Linked DNA regions of Homo sapiens: regions 2, 3, 4 and 5 are each linked to region 1. Evidence: promoter capture Hi-C in 16 types of primary human blood cells and fetal thymus (Javierre and others, 2016). All regions are on one chromosome and are shown on one strand. Each heading gives the region's core, a stretch centred on a gene start or on the middle of the fragment in contact. The rest is flanking DNA. Distances are from core to core; before and after follow the strand shown. Region 1 holds the start of LRRN1 (leucine rich repeat neuronal 1). Region 2 overlaps CRBN (cereblon). Region 3 has its middle 7.9 kb from the start of CRBN. Region 4 has its middle 29 kb from the start of CRBN. Region 5 has its middle 45 kb from the start of CRBN.

What was found. The method cuts DNA at HindIII sites, captures the fragments that hold promoters and counts their contacts. A CHiCAGO score of 5 or more calls a contact.
Region 2: a fragment that was not itself captured here is called in contact with the fragment with the promoter of LRRN1 in region 1 in 1 of 17 cell types (M2 macrophages); the score reaches 5.6 in M2 macrophages.
Region 3: a fragment that was not itself captured here is called in contact with the fragment with the promoter of LRRN1 in region 1 in 2 of 17 cell types (M2 macrophages and M0 macrophages); the score reaches 7.1 in M2 macrophages.
Region 4: a fragment that was not itself captured here is called in contact with the fragment with the promoter of LRRN1 in region 1 in 3 of 17 cell types (M2 macrophages, M1 macrophages and M0 macrophages); the score reaches 10.2 in M2 macrophages.
Region 5: a contact is called between a fragment that was not itself captured here and the fragment with the promoter of LRRN1 in region 1, in 1 of 17 cell types (M2 macrophages). The highest score is 5.9, in M2 macrophages.

The regions. Positions count from the first base shown.
Region 1 is chr3:3,796,320-3,802,153 of GRCh38, reverse strand. LRRN1 (leucine rich repeat neuronal 1) reads right to left here and starts at 2,723. Exons shown (of 2, transcript NM_020873.7): 1 at 2,235-2,723. LOC100130207 (a long non-coding RNA gene) reads left to right here and starts at 1,279. Exons shown (of 6, transcript NR_149025.1): 1 at 1,279-1,453. RefSeq lists silencers at 2,403-2,512, 2,653-2,742, 2,753-2,822. The HindIII fragment of the contact is 7,976 bases long and covers 1-5,834 here.
Region 2 is chr3:3,165,688-3,171,521 of GRCh38, reverse strand. It overlaps CRBN (cereblon), which reads left to right. Exons shown (of 11, transcript NM_016302.4): 5 at 3,729-3,888. Among named protein-coding and RNA genes, the nearest start is that of CRBN, 11 kb to the left of the region's middle. The HindIII fragment of the contact is 8,322 bases long and covers 1-5,834 here.
Region 3 is chr3:3,184,625-3,190,458 of GRCh38, reverse strand. No RefSeq gene overlaps it. Among named protein-coding and RNA genes, the nearest start is that of CRBN, 7.9 kb to the right of the region's middle. The HindIII fragment of the contact is 1,894 bases long and covers 2,731-4,624 here.
Region 4 is chr3:3,206,025-3,211,858 of GRCh38, reverse strand. No RefSeq gene overlaps it. Among named protein-coding and RNA genes, the nearest start is that of CRBN, 29 kb to the right of the region's middle. The HindIII fragment of the contact is 4,036 bases long and covers 731-4,766 here.
Region 5 is chr3:3,222,197-3,228,030 of GRCh38, reverse strand. No RefSeq gene overlaps it. Among named protein-coding and RNA genes, the nearest start is that of CRBN, 45 kb to the right of the region's middle. The HindIII fragment of the contact is 3,186 bases long and covers 1,292-4,477 here.

The DNA of each region.
Region 1 (5,834 bases), core at 1,474-3,973:
ACTGTTATGTGACCTGAAAACCACTCGGGTAACTAGGGTTGGGACAGTTGCATCACCTGCAGTTCTACAGTTTGGTGCCTTAAGAACCGAAATGACTTTGGCTAGACAGTGGACATTCTCAGCTAGACAGTGGACATTCTCAGGAAATCTTCATGTCGGTCAACGACAACGATCTTCTACTATAATGAATAGCTCTGAAGATGAGGACCAAATTTGAGCAAGAGTCAAATTATTAAAAGAAAACTCGAAAAGTTGAGGGGTCAATTCAGAAATCACTTCAAGCCGCCAGAAGTGGGTTAAAGTTACTGTCTGCTTCACACAAACCTTTTCCTAACTAGCTTAGAATATCCAGCTTGAATATTGCACGAATATATACAGCCAGGTAAAGAGCAAGCAGCACTTTGAGCTTTCAATACAATAGCACTTAAAGAATTTGGCTCCTGAATAAAGGTGTCAGCAAACCATGGAATTCCCAAACAGAAAAACTCACACTGCGTCTTTATTCTCTTTTCTTAAGGTCTATTGTTAACTGAAGACTCCTTGTCTTTTCAAATTCCTTCATGTGAATGGATGAGGCCAGACATCTGCCAGGATCCGCTCACATTTGCATGCAAATCAGAGACTTCGGGACACATATGGCCCTGGAGCCAATAACACTTTTACTCTAGATTTATACTGATCAAAGTGCCTTCCTGAACTTTCCACTCCTCCAGCCCTAGCTTTTAAAAATGAAATAATGAGCCTATTCCACTAACATGATTTAGATTGTCATGGCAAGACAAAACAAAACATGTTGTCTTTTAGAAAATCCTCCACGCAAAAGCCAGAGTCGGCAGCACCTGTTCCCTCACCCAATTAGAATTCCACTTTTCCTTTACGATTTAGGTTTGGGAATGAAAATACTTACGGCGGGATGGGATTTAGACTCTTAGCCTTTGCCTGTGAGCTTCAAGTGCTTCAGAACCATTTGTACCCCGGCCAGTCGTTCACTCACGGCCAGGCTCTGTTCTTGGCGCTGGGGCCGCGGCGGTGGACACGGCAAGCGAGGTCCCCTTCTCCTGGATCCGGCATCCGGGCCGAAGCGCCTGGTCCGCGTTTCCGCGCGGGCTCCCCTGGAACCGTCCCGGGACACGCGGCCCTCTCGCTGCTGGACTTTTCCCCGAGCCCCAGCTTGCCAGGCAGGGACTCCCTGGGCGGGCGGCGGGGAAGCGCCGAGTCGGCGGCCGCCCACACCCCTCTCCACGCAGCACAAAGGACACTCGCCGGCAAACTTTCCTCGCTTCTGACCCGGGCCGAGCCGGGAACTCAGCGCCAGCTCTGTTCCTGGCGGGGCTGAGGCTTCCCTCACATTCCAGGCCACCTGGCAAACGTCCTGAGGCTGCCACTCCTTCTGGGCTCAAGGCTCACGGGCTGAGGTCTGTCCCCGCGTGGAGCTCAAGGCTCACGGGCTGAGGTCTGTCCCCGCGTGGAGCTCAAGGCTCACGGGCTGAGGTCTGTCCCCGCGTGGAGCTCAAGGCTCACGGGCTGAGGTCTGTCCCCGCGTGGAGCTCAAGGCTCACGGGCTGAGGTCTGTCCCCGCGTGGAGCTCAAGGCTCACGGGCTGAGGTCTGTCCCCGCGTGGACCGCCGAGAGTTCGGTAGATCCTTCCCAAGGCTCTGACTTCAATACTTTCAGTGCCTTGTCAATTATACCCCTTGCCCCTTTCTCTTACCAAGGCCACCGCCAAGACACCCTTTTTCTTTCCTCTCCCCGTCGCCCGCCACCTTCCTTGCCCTCCTCTTGGCCCTCTTTCCAGCTCCCTGGGCCCCCTTTCCGCGCTGCTCTCCAGCCCCAGCTGCCTTCCCCGGTTCACATCCCGGCAGCCCTCCTCCCTCCCCGTCCCCGGGCACCTCCCTCCCCTGGTCGGCCCCTGAAATCCAGCAGGCTCGGCTCCGGTCACTGCCTTTTTTTGCCTGTTTCTATCTGGCCTGCCTTCCCAACTATCGCTCTCCCACACCTTTTTTTTTTTTTTTTTGGCAAGGGGGACGGGGGGAAACGGGGCACTATATTCTCGTTTCCCGACTTCGTCATTTTCCCCAGCTCCGTGAGCCGCGCCCCCTCGTCCCCCTCAGGCCCGCGATCTTACCCTGAGGTTCCCCAGACCCCGTAGGGTCTCCCACGCCACCAAGTTTGCCTCGACTTCCCCTCGCTGCCTCCCACACCTCCTGCCGCGGCGCGGCCGGCCAGGGACTTACCCCGAGGCCCAGCTGGTGGGGGTGTTGGGGTGCGCGCGGACCCGGCACCCACGGCGGCGGCGGCGGCAGCAGCAGCAGGAGGAGGAGAAAGACGAGGAGGAGGAGGAGGACTAGCTGAGCGGCGCCTCCTTCCCAGCCCGCAGCGCGCACTGGCTCCTTGGGGCACCCCCGGGAGAGCACCAAGACCGGAGACTAGGCGGCGACACAGGCAACCGCTGCTGCACGGGGCTGGGCTCAGTCGGCTCTCAGAGGCCAGGGCAGGGGGAGGCAGGACTGGGAAGGAGGGTCGGAGAAGTGGGGTGCAGAGGGCGGGGCAGCGAGCGGCCAGGTCCGGAGGAAGGCGCCCCAGGCGCCTAGGGATGCCGCCGCCCGGGCTGACGCCGTCGGCCCCTCTCCCCGCCAGGCGGGCGCTTGCAGCCGCGGGCGCACGGGCCTCGCCTCGTTCACCGGCTCGTTGCCGGCGCCCGCGGTGCGCCCCGCTTTGTGCTCCCCGCAGCCGGCGTGCACCTGGTGTAAGCAAAGGCGGTCAGCTGATGGGCCGCGCGCGGATTGGCTGCTCCGCCGTCTCCTCCCCTCCCGCCCGACCCTCTTCGCGGCCTCCCGCCCCCGCCCTCGGCGCGGCCCCGTGCTGGGCACCATCTGTGGACCGCCCAACAAAGGCGCAGCGCGGCGGGGCTCGGGTGGCCGGGCCGCGGTCGCCGCTTTTTGTCTAGGGGACGGCAGGCTGCGGCTGGGCAGGGAGGCGAAGCGCACTGCCGGTTTTTAGCAAAAGACAGACCAAAAGAAAATACACGTCCGTGCTAGGAGGCCAGCTAGGCACAATGGGGCCCCATCTCTTTGCGGCGTAGAACTCGGGCTCGGGGGCTGAGAACCAGACACAGTTCGGCCTGGGGCTGTGGGAGCCAAGTTTCGGGGTGAAATCCGACCCTGCGTCTTAAAATACAGGGCGCGTCCTCGGGCTGTGTGTGCGCGCCCGGGGGCGTCCTCCGCAGACCTGGCCCGGGCCGGTGTCCCTGCCGCGGGAAGGAGGATTCGGACGCTTAACTCAGCGGCGAAGTCGCTTCCCATTGGAGGAGGCTTTCCGAAAACGTTTCTGAAACTTTGAAATTACAGCTTTCTGATTTGTGAGGGGTGGAAGTTGTGTTTAAACAGGCGGCGAGGGACTGAGAAGGCAGTGTTAAGTGGAGGTGTCTCCGAGGAAGGGGAGGAGGGTGGGGACGGAATAGGTCTTCGGAAACTGCGCGTGAACCTGCGTCTCAGCTTCAAAGTCGCCAGCCGGAAGCAGGGCTTCAGAAAAGCCTTGGCACCCTTTATTGGGGGAATCGGCTTTAAGCGAAAGCATCATTAGCCCCTCAGTACTGAACAACTTCTGGCAGAGGAACGTGGTGACATTTCATTATGATGTCTAAACTTAGAACTTCTGGAGAATTTGGAAGGATACATTATTCGAGAATCATCCTTTGGATTCTTCAAAGCCACAGGATACATTCAATGTCAGTAACCATATTCTTGATCCCTGTAACATTTATTGGCGTTTCGCTTAGGTCTCTGATAAATGTTTGACGTCTTTGTGTGTCTTCACACTTTGTTATCCTGAAACTGTGTCATGTAGACATAAATGGTCACAGTTTGTCTTAAAAGTCTTTAGGAAAAGGTGATACTAGCACTTGGGCTAGAAGGTCGTGCAGAGCAGAGGAAGAAAAAGGCCCACTGCTGTCTACAAATGAATGGGAAGATTTAAGATCTTTCAAAGCAAGTTGAGTCTAGACCCTTGCCCAAGTTTTGTAACATGATTTTGTCTCTTTCCCCCCTTTTCATGCAGATTATCCATGGAGTTAGCATGCAGATAGCATGGAGTTTGTCTGATAGAAGTTGGGCTCTGGTGGAAGTACGGAAATTGAATGGTCAGGGAAAGATAGAATGCAGGTTTCTTAGGGAGTCTCTATTAGGTTTCCAGCCTGCCTTCCTGGGAGTGGAAGAGAGATGAGGTTGTGCCCTTCAAGGAGGAGCTTTACAGAGGTAGGTCTTGGAGGAGCAGTCGGAGCAATTAATGATGGTGAGAGTTGCTCTTGGGAGGCCAGATCTAGAACAGCCTCCAGGTTTTGGAAGAGACTTCATGAGAATGGTGTGAGTCAGGGACCAAGGTGTGAATTTTGAAACCAGGCCAACACTGCTTAGGTCCCAGCCCTGCAATTTATGAGCTGTGTCCCTAATGGCAAGTCACTTTATCTCTTTAAGGCTTAATTTCCTTGGCTCTAAAGTAGGGTTAATATCAGTACTTATCCCAAAGGATTGTGATGGTTAAGTGGGAGTAAACATGTAAAATGCTTAGGACAGTGCTTAGTATATAGTAAGCATTCAACGACAGATGTAAGCTCTAGGCATTATTAGGCAGGTATTGAAGACTAAAACAAGACATCAATTCAGACAGGTGGGATAATGATTCCGCATGTGACAGAATATCTCAAAGGCACTAGCTGCTCCAGTGGAGGAAATGGACTCTGTCTCTCCACTGTTCGATTCATTTCTTTTCAAATTAGCATATCATTTATTTAAACTAATTTCCCTCTTCCCCAAGGCAAGAGTGAGAAAGGCAGCTTTTCCCATTTCTACTTGACCACTGCATGCATTTGGTTCCAGACAGAGAGAAGAGCATTATCATTAGGAAGAAATGTGTGTCAGGGATGGGGGAAGGAATTTGGGTGAGAGGATGGGGCTTGCTGTGGACAGAAGAGGAAAAATGAGCATGACAATTATGAAAGAGTCTGAAATGTGGTGTAATTATTAGAAATTTGCTGAATTGCCTGAATTGGTAATTGGTCCAAATTTTAGAAATTACCCTTTTTTAACTCTGCAAAGGGGTTTCGGGACTGTCTTGTTAACTGACACTTAAAAGCTCCTTGTCATTGGGATGGATGAAGAGGAAACACGCATTTTTGCATCATTGGACGAAGAGGAATCAATGAACCAGCATAACCAAATCTCTTACTTGCTTCTTGCTTAAAGAGCTCAAATCCATCTGAATTACTCCTAATGAGCTCACCCAGTCCTGGGATCCTGAATTTATTAGTTAGTAAAAAAGCACTTAATAGTTATTTATTAAGGTGTGGTAGAAGACCTTGGAATTTTTGAAGGAGAACGGAATTGGAGACAAGAGCCCAAGAGTTCCCAGGAGAGCAAGGTCTTATTGTTGATGTAAAGAGTTCTTGCCCCTCGATTGGCTGTGTTGAGACACTACAAACCCCTCTGGATTCCCCTACCAGCCCCTTGAGGTTCTTTAGCTTTGGTTTGAAGGAACATTATCATTGGTGTTAGCCTAATTGTACTGATCTATGTGGTAAATGAGGAAAAAAAAGAAAGATGAAACTTCAGAAGACAGTCGTATTTGAATAATCTTTAGAAGAACATCTGTATTTTGAAAAGAAAATTATCATATGCCTCTTAAAACTGCAATTTTTCAAAGTTGAAAATATGTCTCTCTCTAATTGAAATATTAATAGAGTACCGGTAGTCAGAGTTCTTTCCAATTTCTGAACTGAAATTATGATTTTAAAACAACCACCACCAAGCTCTTAGAGGGTGATGACTGTAGCTTAAAAT
Region 2 (5,834 bases), core at 1,858-4,357, 630 kb after region 1:
AGGATTTTATGTACGTCTCCCTCAATAGATAAGCTGCTTGAGAACAATGACCAAGACTTATTTATGTTTTACATTTAGGACCATAAATTTTATATAAATGAATGAAAGAATGATCTCCTGGGGCGGGTGGGGGTGGTCTGCATTATGATAATTAGCAAACTGTTTTGTTACTGTGGATTTTGCTAACAGTTCCATTTTTAAAGTACTTCTTATCTTCATACAATTTTGATTATTTGTGAATACTTTTATAGAAATCATTAAGGAAAATTGACTTGGGGAAAAGTATATTTCTCAGACTGTCTTGACATTAGTGACTTTTGATTGTGGAAAAACTATTGAACACAAGATGGCAGTATACCGTTAACTCTGAAAACAAGACAAGGAATGGATTTTTGACTCTAGTAAAGATTAACATCAGGCCGCGCACAGTGGCTCATGCCTGTAATCCCAGTATTTTGGGAGGCCAAGGCAGGACGATCACCTGAGCTCACGAGTTTGAGATCAGCCTGACCAACATGGAGAAACCCCATCTCTACTAAAAATACAAAGTTAGCCGGGCATGGTGGCGCATGACTGTAATCCCAGCTACTAGGGAGGCTGAGGCAGGAGAATCGCTTGAACCCGGGAGGCAGAGGTTGTGGTGAGCCAAGATGGCACCACTGCACTCCAGCCTGGGCAACAAGAGGAAAACTCCATCTCAAAGGAAAAAAAAGATTAACATCAAACTGATACAGGTGGACAAGACTTGGAAAGGGCACATTCTCTCTAGTATTCTGTAGACCCATTATTAAGGCCTCTCATAAGGGTATGTCTGTCTTCATTTAAAAGGCCTCTGTGGAATGAGATTTCTCTTGGCTCCACTACTTCTCTGGCCCTGTAACCACCTTCACTGGAAATGGTGAAATGAAAGAAATTCTGGAGTTGATTTAGTTCAGTCTCGTCTTTTTCTGTATCAGAATGCCAGGTACTAGAGAGGTTAAGTAATTTGCTTAAACAGCAAATAAGCGACAGACCTGATTGGTTCTAGGTCCCATGACTTCCAAACTGGTACTCCTTCCATTATACCAGAATTTCTCTATAACACATTTGAAACTCAAGCCAGCTTCCCTTTCTCCAGTAAAATATTTAATATTCATTTGTTTTTCTTAGAGAAATAAGCATATAGAAAAATAAAAATTAAAAAATATAAATATCCATCTTTTACCTAAATGACACTTCATTTATTAAAAGTACACTACAGAGGCCAGGTGTGGTGACTCATACCTGTAATTTCAGCCCTCTGGAAGGCCAAGGTATGTGAATCATTTAAGGCCAGCAGTTCAAGACCAGCTTGGCCAACATGGTGAAGCTGCATCACTACTAAAAATACAAGAAATTAGCTGGGCATGGTGGCCTGTGCCTGTAATTCCAGCTGTTCGGGAGGCTGAGGCATGAGAACCACTTGAACCTGGGAGGCAGAGGTTGCACTGAGCAGAGATTATACCGCTGCACTCCAGCTTCGCCAACAGTGAGACTCCATCTCAAAAAAGAAAAAAAGTATACAACCCCCAAAGTCATGAGTGTGTGTGGGTTGGGGAGGGCGGAGGGGGGGTGGGCATCTTCTGAACACATAGAAATTTTTTTTTAATAAAAACAGGTCTCACTGACATAGGACTCTTCAGAAGTTCCTACTTCTTAGCATGTAGAGAGGAGGAGGGGATTGATATCCTATTGGCATCACAAGAGAAGATCTCTTACCTGTCTAGACTGAGACCAATAATTGTTAGTCAAAAAGTTAGCTGAAGCTGGAAATCACAAAATGTTACACATATATAGCTTAAACATTTTATTTTAACTTTATAAATTCATTCATTTTTCATCTGGAGAGACCAAGGTCTTTCCATTGAAGCAGTTCTGCAGATTGGAGATGACTGTAGACTTTCTGGCACTTTCATTGTACATTATCCACAGTTTATACTGCTAGTTTTTCTTTAAAGAGGGATTCTAAAGATAGTCACAAGGCAATTTGAGTGCAGAATTTTTCCAGATTTGTGCGGTTTTTTTCCTATTAGAGTAGTCTGTACCTAATTTGAAAGCAGTTTATGTCTCAACTTAATGTTCCTTGAAGCAGTTTTATTGTTGAAGTCATATTTCACTGGTTTTTATAACATTTATATAAATTATGTTGCTGTAATCACAAAACAACTGTGATAAACAAGTTGGAAAGAAAAAAAACTAGCTTATGTTAAAAACAAAACTCAGCTGCTGGGAGAAGAACCAGCCACTGCATATGCAGTGGACCCTGGCCATGTTTAACCAGGTAAAGGAGAGCATTCCTTAATCCTTCAAGGCAATTCAGACAGTTTGTACTGCAGACTAATTAACATGATCTGTAAGCCAGGGGATCAATAATGTTACTGTTTTTATCATAATCAAATCTTATACAATAGTTGGGTAAAGCATAGTTCTTAATTCAGTTACCTATAACCTTGAAGAATCAGATTTCTAAAAATTTCTATAGGATGGTATATACTTTTACCTTCATAATGTAATTAACAAGTTATTTGTGTTCATGAATCAGGTGAAGAAAATTGAGATTTTGTTTCTAATGAGCTCTAATAATAATATAAGAACACTTGACCATAATTTGACTATAGTAAAATTTTTTAACATTTTCCGAAGTCATGTAGACAAATTTTCTGAGTATTTCTAATGAGTTTGCAGGAAGGAAATAAAGTTAGTAGAGTGAGTCTACTATTATCATTAAATTAAACTTAGATACTTTCTAACACACTCAGTTATTTTTCCTTCTAATAAATAAGTAAAATGTCAGAATTTCATCCATAATATCTTGTGGTCAAACAGTGGTTATTATGAAAGACTACTTTAGAAGTCTTAAGTATAACTAATAAAGCAGAGACTTTTAATATATTTGACTTTGTCAGTCTGACAGTGTTATATACTAGCATTTGAATATAGTTACATATTCTACATTTCAGAAGCTACACTCTAAGAGATAGAATGCCTCACAGGAAGATAGCTCATAGATACAACCTTCCTGTTTGCACTAGTTCATGATAAGATGTTTGCAATTATGATATTCTCAAGTAGCATTTTGGAAATGACTTTATTATGACATTTTAAATAACTTTTAAGAAAAAATCTAATTTATAGTTTGATCCTTTGTACAGTTAAACTCTTAAGAACGTGAAAAGGAATGCACACAGAAAGGTTGCATGTAACTCTCTAGTGTTATTTTAATTCATCCATGTAAATGCATTCTTGATTTTTCTCTTCCTTTCTCTACTTAGATTAGATGACTTATGAGAAAGGATAGATGTAAGAGTTAAGCAGCATAAGAAGTGGGGGGATAGAAGAATTTGGGTGTCTTAAGAATGTTTAAGAAAGTAGAAGTATCAAGCAGTAGTTGGTTGTATGTTGGTTTTTTTAAAACTTTGTTTCATTTATAGACTCTGTATTTATCTGAAATGTGTAGATCTCCCTTTCCATTCCACAGTGACATTGAAGATCCGTACCTTAGGTTATCTTTGGTTTTAACTTTGGTATGATTTATGAAATAAAATTATTTTCTGAAAGTTTCTGTATCTTAACATCAGTATTTGATGAATATGTTTAAAAGATAAAACTTGGAAAATCTTGGTATTTAAAATTATCACTGTTTAGAAACTTATAGTTTTGAGTTAGTCAATCTTAGAAATGAATACCATGCTTGGTTCTCTTTATTTTAGAATCCAGCAAGCTAAAGTGCAAATTCTTCCCGAATGTGTGTTGCCTTCAACCATGTCTGCAGTTCAATTAGAATCCCTCAATAAGTGCCAGATATTTCCTTCAAAACCTGTCTCAAGAGAAGACCAATGTTCATATAAATGGTGGCAGAAATACCAGAAGGTGAGAAACTAATTTTTTATGCATCTTCAAAAAATGAAGACAGGTTGTTTTTTTTCCTGTTTTAAGAAAGAAACACAACTTTCATGATTCATTACCCAGCCACCTTGTATGGCAATATTCCAGCTACATTTGATCCTCTAAAAATTGCACAGGCAGCTACTTTATGTAAAAGCAGTTTACAAAAGCAATAAAATGTCACACAGCTGTAAGGTATCCTTGTTATTATGCTTATCAGCTATATTAATCGCTTTTGATTTTTAATTCCATGGGAAATGCTTATTAAACTATGATCAAATTAGATGTTCGGCTCTTGAGTTATAAACATCCATTATCTTAAAGAAGGGAGGATTCTTTTGGGGTAGAGTAGTAGTAGAGAAGTAGAGTCTGTTTTCCTTCTTCCAAACCAGAGAGAAAGGTTTCTTTTGCTATGTGTTTTAATGAAATACAGTTGACATCGCAGAAATTGACTTGAGACTAGGTGCTCTTTAAAAATGTTGCTTGTTTGGGCACTAATTCCTATGTTATATCCTTTGACTAAATCATAATTGTCATAGGAAAAAAAAATTGAGGGAGCCTGTTTCTACTCGTTTGTGAGATGTGCAATTTTAAGTATAGTTAATATTTATAATTGCTACCTAAAGAAAAAGATTACTAGTTTCTAAATTTAGAATAATTGGGCTTTTTGAGTTTTTTTTTTTAATATGGAAAGACAGTTTCCACTGTAACCTTAAAAATTCTCTATTAATCATTCCTTTGTTGAGTGGTGAGGATTTAATATTTTAATGTAAATACAGAATCCTAATTTAATGTAAATTATTATGGATAATTAATGAAGTGGACTTATATACTAGTCACTGTACCGAATTTTTATTGTTCTTGCAGTAGAATTCCTCCAGTTTTCAGTGAAAACTTGTGCAGAATGGGCACTTGATGGGCATCAGGGTTATAACCAGGTATCTATAAGACTTCCTGGTCTTTATCTCAGTTAACTGATCTGTTTCATGGTACAGTGTGTTTTGACTAGTGTTTCTAAGGAAGATTCTAATAAGGAAGATATAATTAGACTGCTTTAAGACTCCCAAACAACCTTGAAACTAGTATTTTTTAACGTTTAGTAATATTGATACTGCCTTTAGTTAACAGGCAGCTTTTGTGTAGCTGTATTAGTCCATTTTCACGCTGCCGATAAAGACATAACCAAGACTGAGCAATTTACAAAAAAAGAGGTTTATTGGACTTAAAGTTCCACATGGCTGGGGAGGCCTCACAATCATGGCAGAAGGTTGAAAGTCAAGGAAGAGCAAGTCACGTCTTACATAGATGGCAGCAGGGAAAAAGAACTTGTACAGGAAAACTCCCATTTTTAAAACCATCAGATCTCATGAGACTCATTCACTATCACAAGAACAGCACAGGAAAGACCTGCCCCCATAATTCAGTCACCTCCCACTGAGTTCCTCCCATGACATGTGGGAATTGTGGGAGTTACAATTCAAGATGAGATTTGAGTGGGGACACAGCCAGATCATATCACCGTGCAATACTTTCTTCCCCATACCAGATACAGACACTTTAAATACATGTTTACCCTTGTTTCTTTTAACTGAACTGTGAGAAATTTTGCTCCCATAGTCATTTTAAATGTTACTGTTGAAATAAGTATGTCAGTGATCACTGTCAGTATGTGGCCCCCAAGGAGTAGATTTGGAATATATTAAGTCATTTAGTGCCTAAAAGTATGTTTGGCACTGGTTTGCTACTGAAATACGTGGCAAGGTAACTGCATCAAGTTGTTCCCTATGTGTCATCTGAATATTCACGTAGTGATGTATTTCATACTAGAGATTTTTTTTCAGGGGGTACAGGCATACCACGGAGATATTGCAGGTTCAGTTTCAAACTGCTGCAATAAAACAAGTATCACAATAAAGTTAGTCTCATGAGTT
Region 3 (5,834 bases), core at 2,428-4,927, 610 kb after region 1:
ACACATCTGCAAAGCCTCTTTTGCCATGTAAAGTGATGTATTCACAGGGATGTAGATTTCTTCAGGGGACCATTATTCAGGTTGCCCAAACCCTACCTCATCATTCATTCTTCCCTTCTATTTCTAGTGAAGAAATGCCTCTTGCATTTGCCAAGGCTTACATCATAACTTTCCCATGTTCTGTCCTTTACCTCCTCCCACACAGTGTGCTCCTCCTCTCAGCAACTAATTCCCCTCATTGTCTTCTAATGGAGTTATCAAGTTCTCTGAATTTGCATTCCCAGCTCTGCTACTTTGATGCTGTTAAGTAGTCACAGAGCTTTGACTCTCTGGTTGCCTTTAAGTTGCCTTACAGATAACAACTATCTGTAAGGCAGATATTTGGGACTATCTGGAGGATTAACTCAAATAATGAATGAAAATCTCTCTCCCAGAGCATGGCTGGTGGAAAGCATTCCACACATGTAGGTTGTTGGATTCATTACCTTCAATATCGCCCTGTTTCTTCTGTCCTATCCTGGGGACTGGAGGTCTATACTACTTTTACTGATGACTGGGTTCTCACTCTAAGCCATCATTCGAATAGCACATATCATGACTGTGTAGACATAAGCTGGGCTTTCTCCTCTGAGTTAAATTCAGTCCAACAATTGTTTATCAACATTTCACTCTGTGCTATCACTGAGCATATAAAGATGAGTGAGGCGTGGTTTCTAACCTCAACCAACATTCTGCAGAGCTGTGGAACTGGATGTGGAAAAATAAAACTTCAAAATAAAGTGGTAAGTGCCTGGAAGAAAAGACATTTGAGCTGAGTGAGCCAGGAAATCCTTTTGCAGAAAAAAGGTTAAATTATAAGCACTATTGCTGGTTGTATTCATTGATTATATCTCTGCCCGAGGCATTGGGCCAATCTCTGTCATCAGAAAGATTCATGCTCAAGTGTTTCAGAATAATGAGAGCTTCACCACTCTCTTATTTCCTGCCCAAACCTGGTGAAGAGAGCTTGTTGGAGGGGCCTGGATAATCCCCAGATTCCCTACTTTTTCAGCAACAGGCATGATACAAATTTAAAGCAGCACAGTCAATTTGCTTTATCAGAATATGGTGGCTGCCTAAGGGTCATCAGCCAGCACAGAGACTCCTGCCAACAGGAAAATGGCCATGTGATGAAGCTCAAAAGACATCCAGCTGGACTGTAAATCAGCAGTGCTCTGACTTTCTAGATGCTGACTCATTACAGCAGAGCAGAAGACCTAACCCTCCCTATCCTATGCATTCCTGCTTTGCAGAGCAAAAGACTTCTGTGAAGACCAAGAATTGGAGTAGTAACAATAAAATCTCTAAAAATGCATCAGTCAACCAACATAACAACAAAAGCAAGTTCCAATACTTTTCTCAACTCTATTAATTAATGCAATAAGAGCAACAACCCAAACCCAAACCAACTTAAGACAGTGCTGACGCTGTATAAGTAATACAGTATCCTTCCAGAAAGTTGTGGGAACCCCTTGGTCTATGCCTGCACAGTCTCAGTAGAAGCTTTGCAATATTGTCAAAGCATTGGTTGGCTGCCAGACTTCTTGAAACAATATAAAATGAAAGTGTATAGCAAACTCTAATAATGCCCTAATTTTTGTTTATGAAAACCAAGTTTTAGTTATTCATATTTTAAATTTGTATTAATAAAAAAATCTTTAGTTGCACATCAAAATGAAAGTCCACAGGCTTGTCTTCAGTCCCCAAAGAAAAGACTTAACATTCAGGGATACATTTGTATCTATCCAGGAGGACCCCTTGTAGAGTACAGTGGCCTCATAGCCCTACCCTGAGAAACACTGAGACCAACATCCACTCCCTATCTCCCAGACCCCTTGATGTCTCGTCCCTGGCGTCTGTCTTGGGGGAAGCTGAGCAGTGTCACATAGGACTGAAAGAAGCAAGAATAGGACCACAAATCTAAAGCAAGAGGAAGAATCTGGAGGTTGACCCAGGCAATGGTGGAAGAAGGACCAAGTGAATAGGTCAAAAGTTAAGGAACACACAGTGAGTTAAGATATGAAGAGGACTAAATTCACAAAGCTGTAGAAAAAAATGAAAGCTGATTGAGACCTGGAAAATCATTTATACTGAACCTGTGTTTTCAAAGGGAGAAAGTGACTTGTGATCGCAAAAAATAGGGATAATAGCACCAACCTCTCAAGATGGCTGTAAAGTTCAATGAAGGAACATATGCAAAACACAGATATTGATTTTGGATTAGAGTAAGTGTTTAACAAGTGTTTGTTCATTCATGAGTGACAGAACCTGAACTAAGTCTTCTAATTTAGAAGCAAGTACTCTGTCAGGCTACCAGAAATCCCAAGTATGTAGGAGATTCATAATAAAACAATGGTAACCTTTAGAGCCTGATACTGGGCCTAAGCTATGGTCTATTTACAGGGATCCTGTTCAGACAGGAATGGATCTCAGGTCCAGGATGTGACTCCATCCAGTAAAGTTAAAGTCATTTGCTATGTGGTATACTCTTATAACATAAAGTTCTTATAGACAGCACTTGCCACATTGGGATGTATACTATTATTTGTATATGTGTGTCTTAGCTACTAGTATGACCTCTTTGGAAGAAAACATACCTCCTTTTAATTTTTTTATAATGAAAGTAATTACTTATAATTATGTTTATTTATAATTTCTTATAATTATGATGTCTTAGAAAAATAGAAAGCTTTTAGAAGCCAGTAGAGAAAAAACTCCTAGTATCCAGAAGTACCCACTGTTTCAAAGTATTTATTTTGGTGTGCATTATTCTGTCTGTGCATTTCTTTTTAACGTATATATACACAGATGCAATAAGCATACAACTTGCTGAGAAAAAAAACAGCTTTTGTCTAAGCATGCACCTCTGTGGACTAAATTGGATCTAAGCCCCAGTAACAAGTGGACAGGGAAGACATGCGTGAGTGTGTGTGTGTGTGTGTGTGTGTGTGTGTGTGTGTGTGTGTGTGTGTCTGTATGTCAGGGTTTTCAGTAATGAACAACAGAAACTGACTCTGGCTTACCAAAGCAGAGAAATCATTTATTGGAAAGATATCAGATAACTCACAAATTATTTTATCATTTAGCTTCTTTCTGTCTTGCATGTTTCAAATAATGTTGATATAAACATCTTTATGGATCAATTTTGTCTGCTTTTTGCATTATTTCCATGGGATAGATTTCTAGAAGTAAAAAATAAAGGTTAATCCTTTTAGATCATGAGATTTCCTATTTTGGATCCTTAATTTTTATTAATATCTTAGATACAAGTAATTTTTATGAAGGAAAATGAGTGATAAATCCTTTCAGTGTGTGTATATCCGAGATGCGTACACTATAAGGCCTACCAACTGCTCATTGCTCTGATTGTAGCTGTTGCTATGGGTACACGCAGAGAATTGATGACATCCCTGAAATTTAGTTGGTAGAGAAGCCTCCATGTTCTGCTGCTGCTGCCACCACACTAACTAGCCTGGTGTTCATGCTGAATCCAGCAGTTGAAGCAGTGTGGCTGAAATAAACCCTCTACTTAATCTTGCTTCTCTAAGATGATCCCTGCACTCCTTCACCAGCAACCACCATGGTTCATACTGTTTCTTTGGAGAAAAAACATATAATATATCCTACTTAACTAGATACCTGTTATGCTGTTTATATGTCTGCTTCCCAACCTCTACCCTCAAGCTGTAATCCAGCCCAGGGCAAAGGTTACATTTTAGTCATCTTTCTCCTCTGCTAGCTTATTAGCCTCATTCACCCAGGGTAATGGACTCTTCTGTTTTCTTTTCTGCTGTACCCCTCGTTCCTATAAAAAATACCCGGTGCATAGGAGACATATAGTGACTATGTTAATTAATTTGAGTTGAAGAATAGACAAGTAATTCAGAGTCTACAGTATTAGCATGGTTTTTGTCTCTGAACACACTGGAGTTTTGTTCTCATCTTGGTCTTGCAAGTCACTTTAGCTTTTTTCTGTCTTACGACTTTTCAGTTAGCTCCTCTACTGAAACACATTATTAGACTCTTATATCCATTTTTCTATTTTTCATTAATGAAAAGTCACATTGCTCATGCATCCATTAATAACTTCATATGCAATATCTTCCCCAATTAACACCTGGGATCTAAATTTTTCTGTTTCCTCATATACAAATGGTAAGCTAATGTCAGTTGCAGCAAAGGGTATATTTACTAGGATTTGGGGACCCAAATCCTCTTCATGCTATTGGGAATGATATTTATTCAGACTGGGATTTGACCTGTTTTTTGTCTCTCTTCTCAGTTTCTTTGTGAGTTGGTTAACTTTTTCATACAGTATAGGTCTTCTCAGTTACATGATTCTACTTACATCTGATTTTAATAATTGTGCTGGTCTGTTATTTTTAAGCGAGTTTCTTAAGTTATTCTGTTTCTGACCACTGAATAGCATCATAGCATTTTACAACTGTCCAGGGATTGTGAAACATTGGTCTTCCTCAAGTATAGAAGGGTGATGAAAGCCAAGAACATCATCCTCAGTAGTTCTTTCATTTGTTATACTTACGTTTCCATGTAAGATTTCCTCTGAGCAAATAATTTTGAAGCTTATATATGTGAATATATATGTGTATACATGTTTACATTTGTATGTATATATGCATATATCAACATATGTACACAGATATGAAAATCACAAAGTTAGTACCACCCTGTGGCAGACATTACAAATGTAACCAAGTTCCACTTCTTCTACACAGAGTATTAGACTACTCTGCTCCCTTGAAGTTAGACTGAGCCCTGGGATTCACCTTGGCCAGTGAAATATGAGTGAAGGTGATATGTTTCACTTCCAGACAGAAGCATTTAAGAGACAGTGTTCAATTCTCCAAGCTTTTTCCTTCAGCCATGGGCAATCTGCGATTATAGAAGCACATACTGATGTGAAGTTTCCACAAGACCAAAGCAGCCTTCGCTGGTGATCTGTCAACAGAGAACATGATGCCCTGGAGAGTCACCAAATCCATAGAACATTTGATTTGAGCAAAAAATACACCTCTGTTGGTTAAGCTGCTGAAATTTTTGTTACTGTAGCAAAACTTCACATATCCTGGCCTTTGTAAACCCTTATGTGCAAGACCAAGAATACAAGTCCAGGGAGGAAGACATTGAAATACCCCAACCAAAGTTACAGGTAGAAAAAAGGCAATGACTAGAATTGAGGTCTCCTCTCTCCCTGCTTTGTGTTCACCCCTCTGCAATATTCTGTACGCTTTTGCTTCCAGTGGAAACAGCACATAGTGTCAGGACAAGCTGTTGGGTGAGTCATGAACACAGTTTTGCACACAAGTTGAAAAACCATAAATTACCCAACATTTTACTTTCTTGCAAAAATCTTCCCTACTTTACCTGTCAAGTCAGAGATGGATGTAGTGGCAGGAAGTCTCAGTAAATTGCAACATTAAGTATCATCACAAATAATCATTTTTGGCAAATAATCCAACATGCCTGGGACTTGTATAGGCTCTGGTGTACCTGAAAATATTACTGTAGCAGGGAAAGTCGCATATAAAGGTATTTTTTTCAAATCCCAAATTATTCACCATATTACTGAAATATGAAACTGAATCATTAATAAAATTGTCAACATTTTGAAGGGGCTATGAAATACCCTTACTACCTCTGGTTTTCTGCCTGCTAACAGAGCAGGCTTCCCTGTTTTTCCTCTTTCTAGGTCTGCATAAAGCTGACAAGATCCATCTTTCATTCCCTCATAACTTTGGGATTTACAGGATAAGATGCTGCCATACACATTCTAC
Region 4 (5,834 bases), core at 1,499-3,998, 590 kb after region 1:
TATTAATAAAACCTAACAACTTGCTGGCTTGCAATGAGCGTGTGATTAACTGAAATTCCCTGGTCCAGATACCCATCATGCATTTGTGCAATTTATTTCTCCGAGCTTTAGTAAAAGACTATATATGCATCCCCATCAAATTTTATCTTAATGGTCTGGACTCCCGATCTGTGGTTTATTACTATCAAAATCCTTTTTAAATGCTAGACTCAAGTCTCTTTCTAAGCAGAGAGTAATCCTCTGTTCTGCCAAAAGTGAACTAAAGCACTGTAAGAAGTCACTTGCTGTCAATCCCAAATCCCTTGCCATCGAGCTCTTTAAAAATGGCAACAAGGAGAGTTGAGTTCAACACTGAAAAGAATACCTGCAGCAACCTCTGCCTTTGTTGGAAAAAAAATAGAGCTCTATATGAAGAATTTGAATGTTCCCATTCAGACTGTTTTAAAGATATAAATCTACATTCATCCTTATAACGCTGAATGGTTAGCTTAATATGTGGTGAAATAGGCTCACAGGCTAATTCCTTTCTGCCTGTGTGCATTGTCGCATCATCTGGAAGGAAATAGCATTGTCATCAGCTCTTTCAAGGAATTTAGTGCTCCAGAAGGAGCTATATTTTTCAGGGCTCCCAAACTCACCCCTGAGGTACCATAAAAGATTAAACTTGCCTCATTCATGGAAAGTAGATTTTTAAAAATCTTGATTTATTTCAACTTTGTGTAATAAAGCTTTCTGATCAGCCCCAGGTGTATAAGAAAAACAAAGGGGAAAGAAATTATGACACAGAAAATATTTTCTGAGAATTGTGTCTTCTCTGGTCAAGATGCATTTCAACAATATGCAAATTAGGCAGTGCCATTGTACGGTAATTATGTTTTCTTAATGTTTCCACAACAGCTCTGCCTTTGCCAGACTTCAATATTTTAGCAGCATAATGGTCACTTTGGAAGGGATTAGCACCCATTATATTTAGAGAAGGAAGGAAAACCTTGGAAAATCAAATTCAGATAATGCAGAGAGAATATACTTTCCATTGCTAATTTGTTTCACAGTTACCTTAAGGGAGAAAAACAGACTTCTATCTCCAGGGAAAAAAAAATGGATAAAATGCAAAAGAATTAATTATAAACATCCTGAAATGCAAAATCCTGAAGTTCTAAAACTATACTTAAAAATCTTCACAGGACCATTGGATCCTCAGGCTGAATGGATTTCAGGGTAGCTGCGACTCGTCAAAGTGTGTGCCACAGGATGTAAGTTCTGAGCCATGTTAATAGATGCTGTCTTTCAGAAATATGCTGTTTTTGTCAAGTAAATTTGAAAAATGCACTAGATTAAACAAAGTTAGCCAAGTTTCAGTCCCTATAGGACCTCTCCTGAATATACCAATGTTCAAGGATTGTCCTCCAAAGCCAGATAGATAAAGGACACAGCATTCCCAAATGGAACCCTATTTTCACAGTGATTTTTTTAAGATATGGGTGTTTTAAGAAAAACTCGTTAGGGAACATTGGCTACATCAATCCCTAGTGTTATAATAATAATAAAACTGTAGCCCAAGAAATTAAAGAGACTATTCTGAAGTCACCCAGATAGCTAAAGGTTGGACTAGAAATACAATTTCAGCACTCTGATTCCCGGCACAGCTCTCTGCTACCTCTTGCATATTCACTGGCTGGTAATTCAGTAGAAGCTCATGTGATAATCTATACATTTCCACTTTTTAGAAAATTCCATAATTTTTCTATAGGGAACAACAGATCTGTCATATACTAGCTTATGCTTTTCTTATTCTAAGTGGATTTTACAGTTTAGAAAATTCCAAGTAATCTTGACACATCATTATTACCCAAACAATTACTTCCAAGTCATTGTTTAAATAGATGAAACCCATTACAACAGAGGTCTCAGACCTTCTTGCCTCAGGGGCCAGAGAGATGACATAACTGAAATAGCTCAGCTTTAGCCAGCAATTGCTTAATGGAAATGTGGGATCTTTGTTGCTAGCTCTGATTTAAAAAAGACAGAAAGAAAGAAAGCCAGGTAGGGCATGGTGGCTCATGCCTGTATTCCCAGCACTTTGGAAACACTTTTGGAAGGCCAAGGCGGGCAGATCACCTGTGGTCAGGAGTTCGAGACCAGCCTGGCCAACACGGCGAAATCCCATCTCTACTAAAAATACAAAAATTAGCCGGGCATGGTGGCATGTGCCTATAATCCCAGCTACTCGGGAGCCTGAGACAGGAGAATCGCTTGAACCCAGGAGGCAGAGGGAGGTTGTGGTGAGCCAACATCGTGACACTGCACTTCAGCCTGGGCAACAGAGCAAGATTCTATCTCAAAAAAAAAAAAAAAAAAAGGAAGAAAGCCAGAAATGTATGTTTTTATATGAAACTTACAATTTTACATGTTGGCAAGTAGTTTATATTTAAAAATATAGTAAATTGCTGACCAACAAAATATACCTGCAGGCAGAATTCAACCTGTAGGCTGCCAGTTTCCAGCTTCTTCTTTACATTTTGGAATCAGTCCAGGTCTCTCCCTTGGCTCTGTGCTTATGCAGAGGTATGTCAAAGACTCTGGGTATCCCCTGGACAGAGTCAGACAATGAATAGACCAGCTGTTTCCAGCACCCAGCTTCCATTTTCGATTAAAACCAAATGATGCAAAAGAAAGTGGAAAGCCAGAGATAGGTCAGAGATAAAGAGAGGGAGATATCTCAGTTAAGATCCTGGCTGTCTGCCACTCAACTTGTATCTCTTTTTCTAGTTAATTTTATTTTTTTAATAGACTTTATTTTTTGGAGCAGTTTTAGGTTCCCAGCAAAACCGAGTGGAAAGTACAGGAAGTTCCCATATACCTGCAAGCCCCCAACACACAGCCTCCCTAACTATCAACATCCCCACCAGTGTGGTACATTTGTTATAATCAACAAACCTACTTTGATACATCGTTATCATCCAAAGTCTGTAAGTTTGCGTTAGGGTTCATTCTTGGTGTCGTACATTCTTTGGGTTTTGGCAAACATAGAATCACATGTATCCACCATCATAGTATTATACAGGGTATTTTTGCCGCCCAAAAAACTCTCTGTGCTCTACCTATTCATTCCTCCCTCCCCTCAAACCCTGACAACCACAGATCTTTTTACTGTATCCAGTTTTGTCTTTTGCAGAATGTCATATAGTTGGAATCCTATAGTATTTAGCTTTTTCAAATTGGCTTCTTTTACTTAGTAATATTTACAGTTTCTCCATGTCTTTTCATGGCTTGATAGCTCATTTCTTTTTAGCAATGAATAATATTCCATTAACTGAATATACTTACAGTTTATTTATCCATTTACCTACTAAAGGAAATCTTGGTTTCTTCTAAGTTACAGCAATTATGACTGTAGCTGCCATAAACATTTGTGTGCGGGTTTTTGTGTAGACATAAATTTTCAACTCATTTGGGTAAATTTCAAGGAACAAATTGCTAGATCGTATGTTAAGAGTATATTTAGTTTTGTGAGGAAATGACAAACTGCCTTCCAAACTGGCTGTACCATTTTGCATTCCCACTAACAATGAATGAGAGTTCCTGTTGCTCCACAACTTTTATCTCTTTTAATGCCTGATATAACTTACTTACTCTCAGCTTACTGATGGATATGCATTACTCACCAAACAAGCTGGCAGGTGAAGATTCTGCTTCAGGGGCCTGGGTCTCAGAATACCTGAGTAAGGCAAGCTCTTCTTCTGTTCTTTGTGTATTTGGTTAATTTTCAAAGTTGGACATCTCAAGACAAAGCAGTTTGTCTCACAAGTCTGGCCATGAGACTAGGCTCTCCTGAGTCATCTCTCCAAATTTTGGTTGTGAGAAATCCTTTTCTTGTTACGCTTCTGGGAGGAAGTTGGGCAGCATATATTATTAAATATTGTCCCCTTGGAGTTTTAAAATAGCCCAACCTCTAGTCTGAGAGCTGATAAATTGAGCCGAATAGAGATCTGGATAAAATTAGAAGTCCCTAAAACCTGGATGGTGGCAGACTTTACTTTTTAATTTCTATAACCATTTTCTTACACTGCTGAGCTCAATATGAGGGCAGAAGACAACTTTATTTTCCTCTGTTACTTGTTCAAATTTATGGCATGAATGAAATCTTGGTCAGATCTTAGAACTTTCAGGGGTCACTTTCAGATAATTACAAAAACTCCCCATCATTTTCTGTTCCCGAAACAGTCTCAATTCAAGGAATTTGCAATAATTCAAACTCTTACCTGACTGTAGAGATTTTCAGCCTCCAGCTTAGTGATGCTTTTAGCTCTTTTTAGCTTTGCTGAAGTCTATAGAGAGGGTAGGGAGCTTCTGGGTCTCCTGGTCCTCATTAGCTGGGTTCACCCCTCCAAGCTGGAACCAGAAGGTGATAGGCAGGTGAAAAGGGCATAATTTTATGTAGCTGGTGATGCCATGATTTGGAGGATGTTTTAAAACTGCCTGTTTCTCTTTGGGGCATTTGTTTCCCTCTGGTTGTGAGGCTTTTGTGTGTTTCTCAGAGATTTCCCTCCTACGAACCTTCAACTGCACTTTGGGGACATCTCTCTTGGACCAGTTGCATAGGGTTCCCTCCCTTAGGCTCTGGAGTCAGATCTCAGGGGTTTGTATTGTCAATTTACCCATACCTCAGTGTCCACACCCAGGAAATAAGGATGATAATAGAATCTAACCCACAGGGCTCTGAGGATTTAAGGAAATGATCAATGTAAGTTGTTTACAACAAAGCTTGGTATGTAATAAGACCTCATAATATATTTTGTTATTATTAGGCCATGTATCAATATTTTGAAGGGAGTTTCTGGAAGATTAAGTTACCAAAGGCACAATTTTAGAGTCAGATAAGGAGGGAAAGATGGGAAATAACTACAAATAATTATGGCATAAAAAATAAGAAATATGTTCCAAAGTTATATGTGATGCCATAGTAAAACAGACACTGGGTTCACCTTCAGAAGACCTGGGTTCTAGTCCTGACTCTGTCCCCAACTGCTGCATGTTCTTGAAAATGTAACAGAACCTCTCTGTTCTACAACTTATGGTTTCAAGTCCATCTCTTAATTTGGCTGGTTTAATATTGGCTAAATCACTTAAATTCTCTAAACCTTAGTTTCTTCATCTTTAAAAGGGAATGATCAGCCCAGCCCCCACAGGATTCCAGTAGTGATCAAGTGGGAGAGTATATAAATGAGCATAAACTCTAAATCATTAATTCATTCGCTCAGCAAACATTTCTTGACATTTATTGACCAATCACATGTCCCAGATACTATCAAACTGTAAACCATTGCTAACATCACCATTAAGGAACTGGGTAAACTCTAGTACTTCTTCCAGTTTTAAAATTATTGGAATCAAATAATAAAGGAGGACTCCTTCCTCCCCTTGTCCATGAATGGTTTGCACCTGCCAGCTAGAGAAACAGCTAAGGCAGCTCTGTGCAATAGAACTTTCTGTGGTGATGGAAATACTCCAAATTCACGCTAACTAAAACAGCAGCCACCAGGCACACATGGCTATCCAGTGCTTGAAATGTAGCTAGTGTCACTGGGGAACTGGATATTTTATTTTATTTTGAATATTTTATATTTAAGCACACTCATCTAGTGGCTACCATATTGGACAGTACAGAACTCTAAGACCTTAAGCAAAGGGTGGTGCAGGCAGAAAAGGGAAATGCAGACCATGAAGTCTAATTCAAGAGATATGTTTGCCACTTGGTAGAAGCATACGTTTGACTGTAGATATTTGGTGTTACTGTTTTTCATTATTGAACCCTGGAACTTAGGTCATTGTGA
Region 5 (5,834 bases), core at 1,635-4,134, 570 kb after region 1:
TGTCTGGAGCATATTGGTTGTCACTTTCTGGTGTGGGGAGGCAGGATGGAGGTAGGAGTTGTGCTGCCTGCATTTAGTGGTAGAGGCTACAGATGATGCTAAATATACTGCAGTGGACAGGACAACCCCCACAAGAAAGAATTTTCCAGCCCATGATGCCAATAGTGCCAAGCTGTAGAAACCCTGCTGTCTCCTGACTGTAAGTGCTGGAAGCGATCCACAGGCTGACACTCATCTTCTCTGAAGGCCAAGTTCCTATCTGACAAAGTTCATACATCACATTATAATTGGCAATTCTTGTTGGGCAATTTGCCCTTTGGTTGCAATTCCTACTTGTTTTAGACAAATGATTATATTGTAAAGTAGCTTCTATTTTAATTTATAATTCAGAGAGTATCCCAGCAGTGATTTGCAGTTCCGCCCCAGTCCTATTATTACCAGTTGTGAGGGCCTTTTGCTAACTTTTTTAAAATCATTTCATCTTTAAAAAGTGAACCTCATGTGGGTGGATCTGATCCAAGGATTTTGAGGGTTTTAATTTTAACTCTTTAAAATATTTCATTGCAGATTTTCTACAATTTTTTTCTCTTAGTTTATTCTATGCTTTTATTTTTAATCTATATTTTACTTTAAAAATTATTTATAGGCCAGGCGTCGTGGCTCACGGCTATAATCCCAGCATTTTGGAAGGCCAAGTTGGGAGGACTGCTTGAGCCCGGGAGTTCAAGACCAGCCTGGGAACATAGTAAACCCAATTTCTCCAAAAAATGCAAAAATTAGCCAAGCATGGTGGTGTGTGCCTGTAGTTCTAGCTACTCAGGAGGCTGAGGTGGGAGGATAGCTTGCCCCTGGGAGGCAGAGGTTCCAGTTAACCAAGATCACACCATTGCACTCCAGTGTGGGCAACAGAGCCAGATCCTGTCTCAAAAAAAAAAAAAAAAAAAAAAAAAAAATATATATATATATATATATATATATACACACACACACACACACACACACACACGCCTATATATGTATTTCTATAATGACATGCAATTGACCACATGCAATTAAGCAGGTGTGATGTCTGGATTCTGAGCCTCAATTCTTATTGTTGGAGAACGCACAGGCAGTTTGGTCTGAAATTCTACAAACTTTGGTCCATACCTAAAAACTGAATGTTCAGACTAATACATGAGTTTATTTTCTTGTCTTTTTCTCCCAAATATAAACTTCAGAAAGTAAACAGTAGTTTATTGAATACATCTATCACTGAAAAGAGAAAATTAGAGTTTTTCTATAATAAGCTTATGCTGTGTGTGGTAAGTAACACACTCAATGGAGAAGAATCACAAAACACTCAAGCAGAGAAGAATCAGGTAATTAAAGAATATTTGTTTGTTTTTTATCATAGAATTATTTAAGTAAGAGAGGGAAAAGTCTTGGAAGCACAAAAATATTTACTAATAGTTGACTGCTTACAAAATTAGCCCCATTCACAAACTCAGAGACTACTGTCTATGTTAGGTAGCACCTTATTGATTATTTGTCAATTCTGTGCTTCAACAATGAAAAGCAATTGTAGATCCAATAAGTCTTGCCCCCAAAATGCAGGATTTTGTAACACCTATGAAAGAGAGAGAAAGCTGCTCTAATTGAACATAAAACCATTTGACACATAAGGACCTGTAAAGTCAGATGGTTAACAATTAAGAGAAAAATAGACAAGAATGATTGCAAGATAAATGCTTCAGAGGGGAACGAGTTAAGTACCAAAGATGAAAGAGAGGCTCTTGGGAAAATTGATCAAGCCTTCAAACATTTTCATGGAAGTGCCCCTCTTGATTTCCACACTGTGAGAGTCAAACACGAAATAAAAGATATGGTATCTTCTACCACTGAAATTAGTCAGAAAAAAAATATGCTCGTCCAGAATCAATCACTGCTTGATTCATGCTGTGTTCATTCTGACATCTTATGCATAGTTGCGTTTATAACCTAAATGATGGTAAGTTTGGAATCAAATTTTGTAATTTTCTTCCCATTTTTTGAGAGAAAATTCCAATCAAACATTTCGCAATTTGGCATACATTTTTGGTCCCTATTTTAATTGCATTTCTTTTAAGTGGTCTTTTTCCAGTGGAGCATCACTTCCTGTGATGGGACAACTATCACTTCCGGGAATAGAAGCTCATAAAATGATAGAGTTGAATTTTCAGAAGCCATCGTGTTTATCACTCTTTTCCAAATAAAGAAATTAAGACTGAATGAGATCACTACCTGCCTGAAGGTTATAAACAAACTCTATGAAACATTTTAATGGAGTATAAAAATCACAATTTGGCTTATAATAAATAAAATAATTTCTAGACAACAAGGATGATTCTTTTGAAGACGGTGCTTCTAAATTTGAAATCTTTTCTTTTTGTAAGAACCACTACTACTTTTGCCATATTTTTGCCAGTCCCCTTCATGTTTTCAGTAAAAGGGTGAGAGACTAGGATTTGTGAATTCTGTATCTACCACTTCTCTGGAATTGTCATTCTCTGCTCATCCTACAAATCTGTTCCAGCTCAGTGTTTATTTTTATTTTCTCCTTCACTTACTGTAATCTGTGGTGGATCATTATGCAATTAATTTAAATTACCAACATATCATTCTAATAATCATTTTAACTACACTAAAGTGAATATGGTTCTGATTTAGCAGACACTTACTGTCTGGTATAGGAAACCGTGTAAATGTACCTGCTTTGGTCATGCTCCAAGGATGATGACAATATCATGTTCTAACTGTGCTTTTTTCTCCCCATTTCCACCCCACTCAGCATGTCTACCTCTCCAGTTGTCCCAGACTTCTCAAAATGGTGATCCATGACTCAGAAATGGCCTATAACATGTTTTCTTCCCAAACCTATGTGACTTTTAAAAATTTGAATTAGTGGCCAGCTTTGAAAATTGGATTGTTTACATAGAAATCCAGATTTCTGACATCTCTTGGAAAAAAAAAATAGCAGATCTTACAATAATTATTTGCAATCTGCACCAGTCAGCTAAGGCCTGGTAACAACCAAACCCTTTTTGCCCAGCACCCACTTTGAAGTTTGCCTAAGTCCCATCAAGCTCTGTTGTTCCCTGAAAAGATAAAATGTTGATTGTTATTTTGTATTTGTGCTAGTCTTCTTACAGTGTAATTAAGGTGAAATATTTCTTGTATTCATGTCCCTGGAGAAAGTAGGAGAACCAAAAAGACAGGGAGGGCTGTGTGTTTCACAGTAAATGGGAGATAGCCCTCTTACACTCATTTGTTTCACCCAAGGATACTGTGAGTACTACAGTTGGCACTATCTGATTCAGTCTATTGCTTCAATGCCATTTAGTGTCTGTATTAGTCAGGGTTCTCCAGAGAAACAGAACCAATAGGTTATTTTATATATATATATATATATACACATACATACACACACACACACATATATATATACACATATATATATGCACACATATATATATGTACACATATATATATGCACACATATATATGTATATAGTGTGTATATGTATATATCTGTGTGTATGTGTACACATATAGGTACACATATAGGTATATATATGTACCTATATCTCCATCCCTATCTATCTATATGGAGAGGGGGAGGATTTATTATAAGTGATTGGCTCATGTGATTATGGAGGCTAAGAAATCCCAAGAGCTGCTGTCTGCAAGCTGTAAGCTGAGGAAAGCCAGTGGTATAGTTCCAGTCCTGAGTCTGAAGACTTGAGAATTGGAGAGCTGATGGTGTAAGTTCAAGTTCAATCTGAAGACCTGAGAACCAGGAGTGTTGACAGCAGGAAAAGATCGATATCCCTCTAACAGTAAGAGAGAATAAATGAGTCCTCCATTCCTCCATGTATTTGTTCTATTTAGGCCCCCAACAGATTGGATGAGGCTGCCCACATAGGGGAGGGCTAGCTACTGAGTCCACTGTTCAAATGCCAATCTCTTCTAGAAGCACCCTCACAGACACATCAAGAAATTATGTCTGACCAGCTATCTGGGCATCTTGTCGCCCAGTCTAGTCAACATGCAAAATTAACCATCCCAGTTATCTTGTAGTAGGGATGAAGAATATGAATCAATACATGAATTAATGCAGAAAATAGATATGCTTCACCTACCAAGGTGGTGTGTCATCAGGGATATTCCACCAATGTTGGGGAAGTGCACACCACAAATCTTAAAACCAGAAGATTTTCCCCCTAGACTACTGTATATATAATTGTCAGACTGTTTATTTGCAGTCTCATGACCTTAAACCCAGAGAATTTGGGGACCTGCCAGAAATGAAAAGAAGGAAAGGCAACACAAGTATCTCTCTTACATTTAGAGCTTAAGAATTATCCTGGATATATTTACTTATTTTCAACTTCCTTCCCTCCTCCTTTTATATGCTCATCATGAGGAGGCTTCATGCTATCTTAACCTGATTTAAGCTTAAATGGAAACATTTGCCTCTTTGATCATGATAAGAACAAACTAGTACCTTCTTCCTCTTCCCAAGTAAAGAAATCTTTAGAATGTGTGAAACTGTTGACAGTAAGTCCCAATTCCCTGAAGACAGACTGATCATTTACTTAGCATTCTACCTTGGGGGCTACACTGAAGATCTCAGAGGTCAAGTCCCAAATCAAAACTTGAGTGGAATATTTTAAAATACAGCCAGTAACCAAGAGAGTTAAAAGCTCTTTGGCATGTTTATATCTGACCTTCATCTATTAACCTCAAGGAAAGGTAATGAAACTTGCATTCACGAGAGATGGTATTATCTACTTCAGGATAATCTATTTAATGAATGAGTAATAAGCAAATTTTTAAAGAAAATGAAATTCCTGGGGACTCTTAGAAAATTTAACATCGCAATTTGGGAATATGTTTACCATATAACTATGAAAATGATAATGAGCCCACAATTTCTGAGCCAGAAAATTTCTTCATTGCTAAATAATGCACTAGAAAGAAAACAAACCAGCACCACAGGATCTGCAACAGCCAATATGGATTAAATATGGATTTTTAGAACCTTGTTATAATTAGCTGTATTAAAACGCCCTTGTCACAGTATCGAACAGTAATCAAGACACTAGGAAGGAGATGTGAAATAGAAAGACACGAAACAGCTCAGACAGAACTATCTTCATCATCAGTGATGTGTAGGATGATGCAAAGGACAGGAGAAAGTTAACCTTGGTGAGGGAGTTTAATTTGTGTGTGTTTGCCTATTTATACTCAGGTAAGACAAAGATTAAATGAAACCATGTATTCATGCCTTGCTTCAACATTTTCAGAGCCCCACTCCACCCATAACCATCACTTACTGAGGAAACTGGGAACTCCACCGGCATCCAAGACCCTTCACTATCTGGCTGTCACTTCTTTGCTGTAAACAGATTTCTTGCTATTCCCCTCAAGAGGTAGTAAAACCTAGTGGTTAAGAATCTGTGTTTAAATTCTAATTCGACCACTAACTAGTTGTGGGATAAGGTTACACAATTTATTTCAGCCTCCATTTCTCCATCTGTAAAGGAGAATTACTCATCATAGTCTTAAACAAGGATTAAATGAGATTTTCTATGTCACGTGCCTAAGCACATGCCTGACATACAGTAGGTATACCAGACAGCTACTGTGAAGTTACACTTAGCTGCTCTCTATTCTCTGGCAGTTACCCAGCTTCAGGCTTTTGTGGGTTTTTAGCCTTTCCTGTTCAAAGGCTCTGCCCATCTCATGTCTTCAAATCCAAATTCATCCTTCAAATGCCTCTCCAGATAGCTCCCTAACTCCCCACCTCCCCT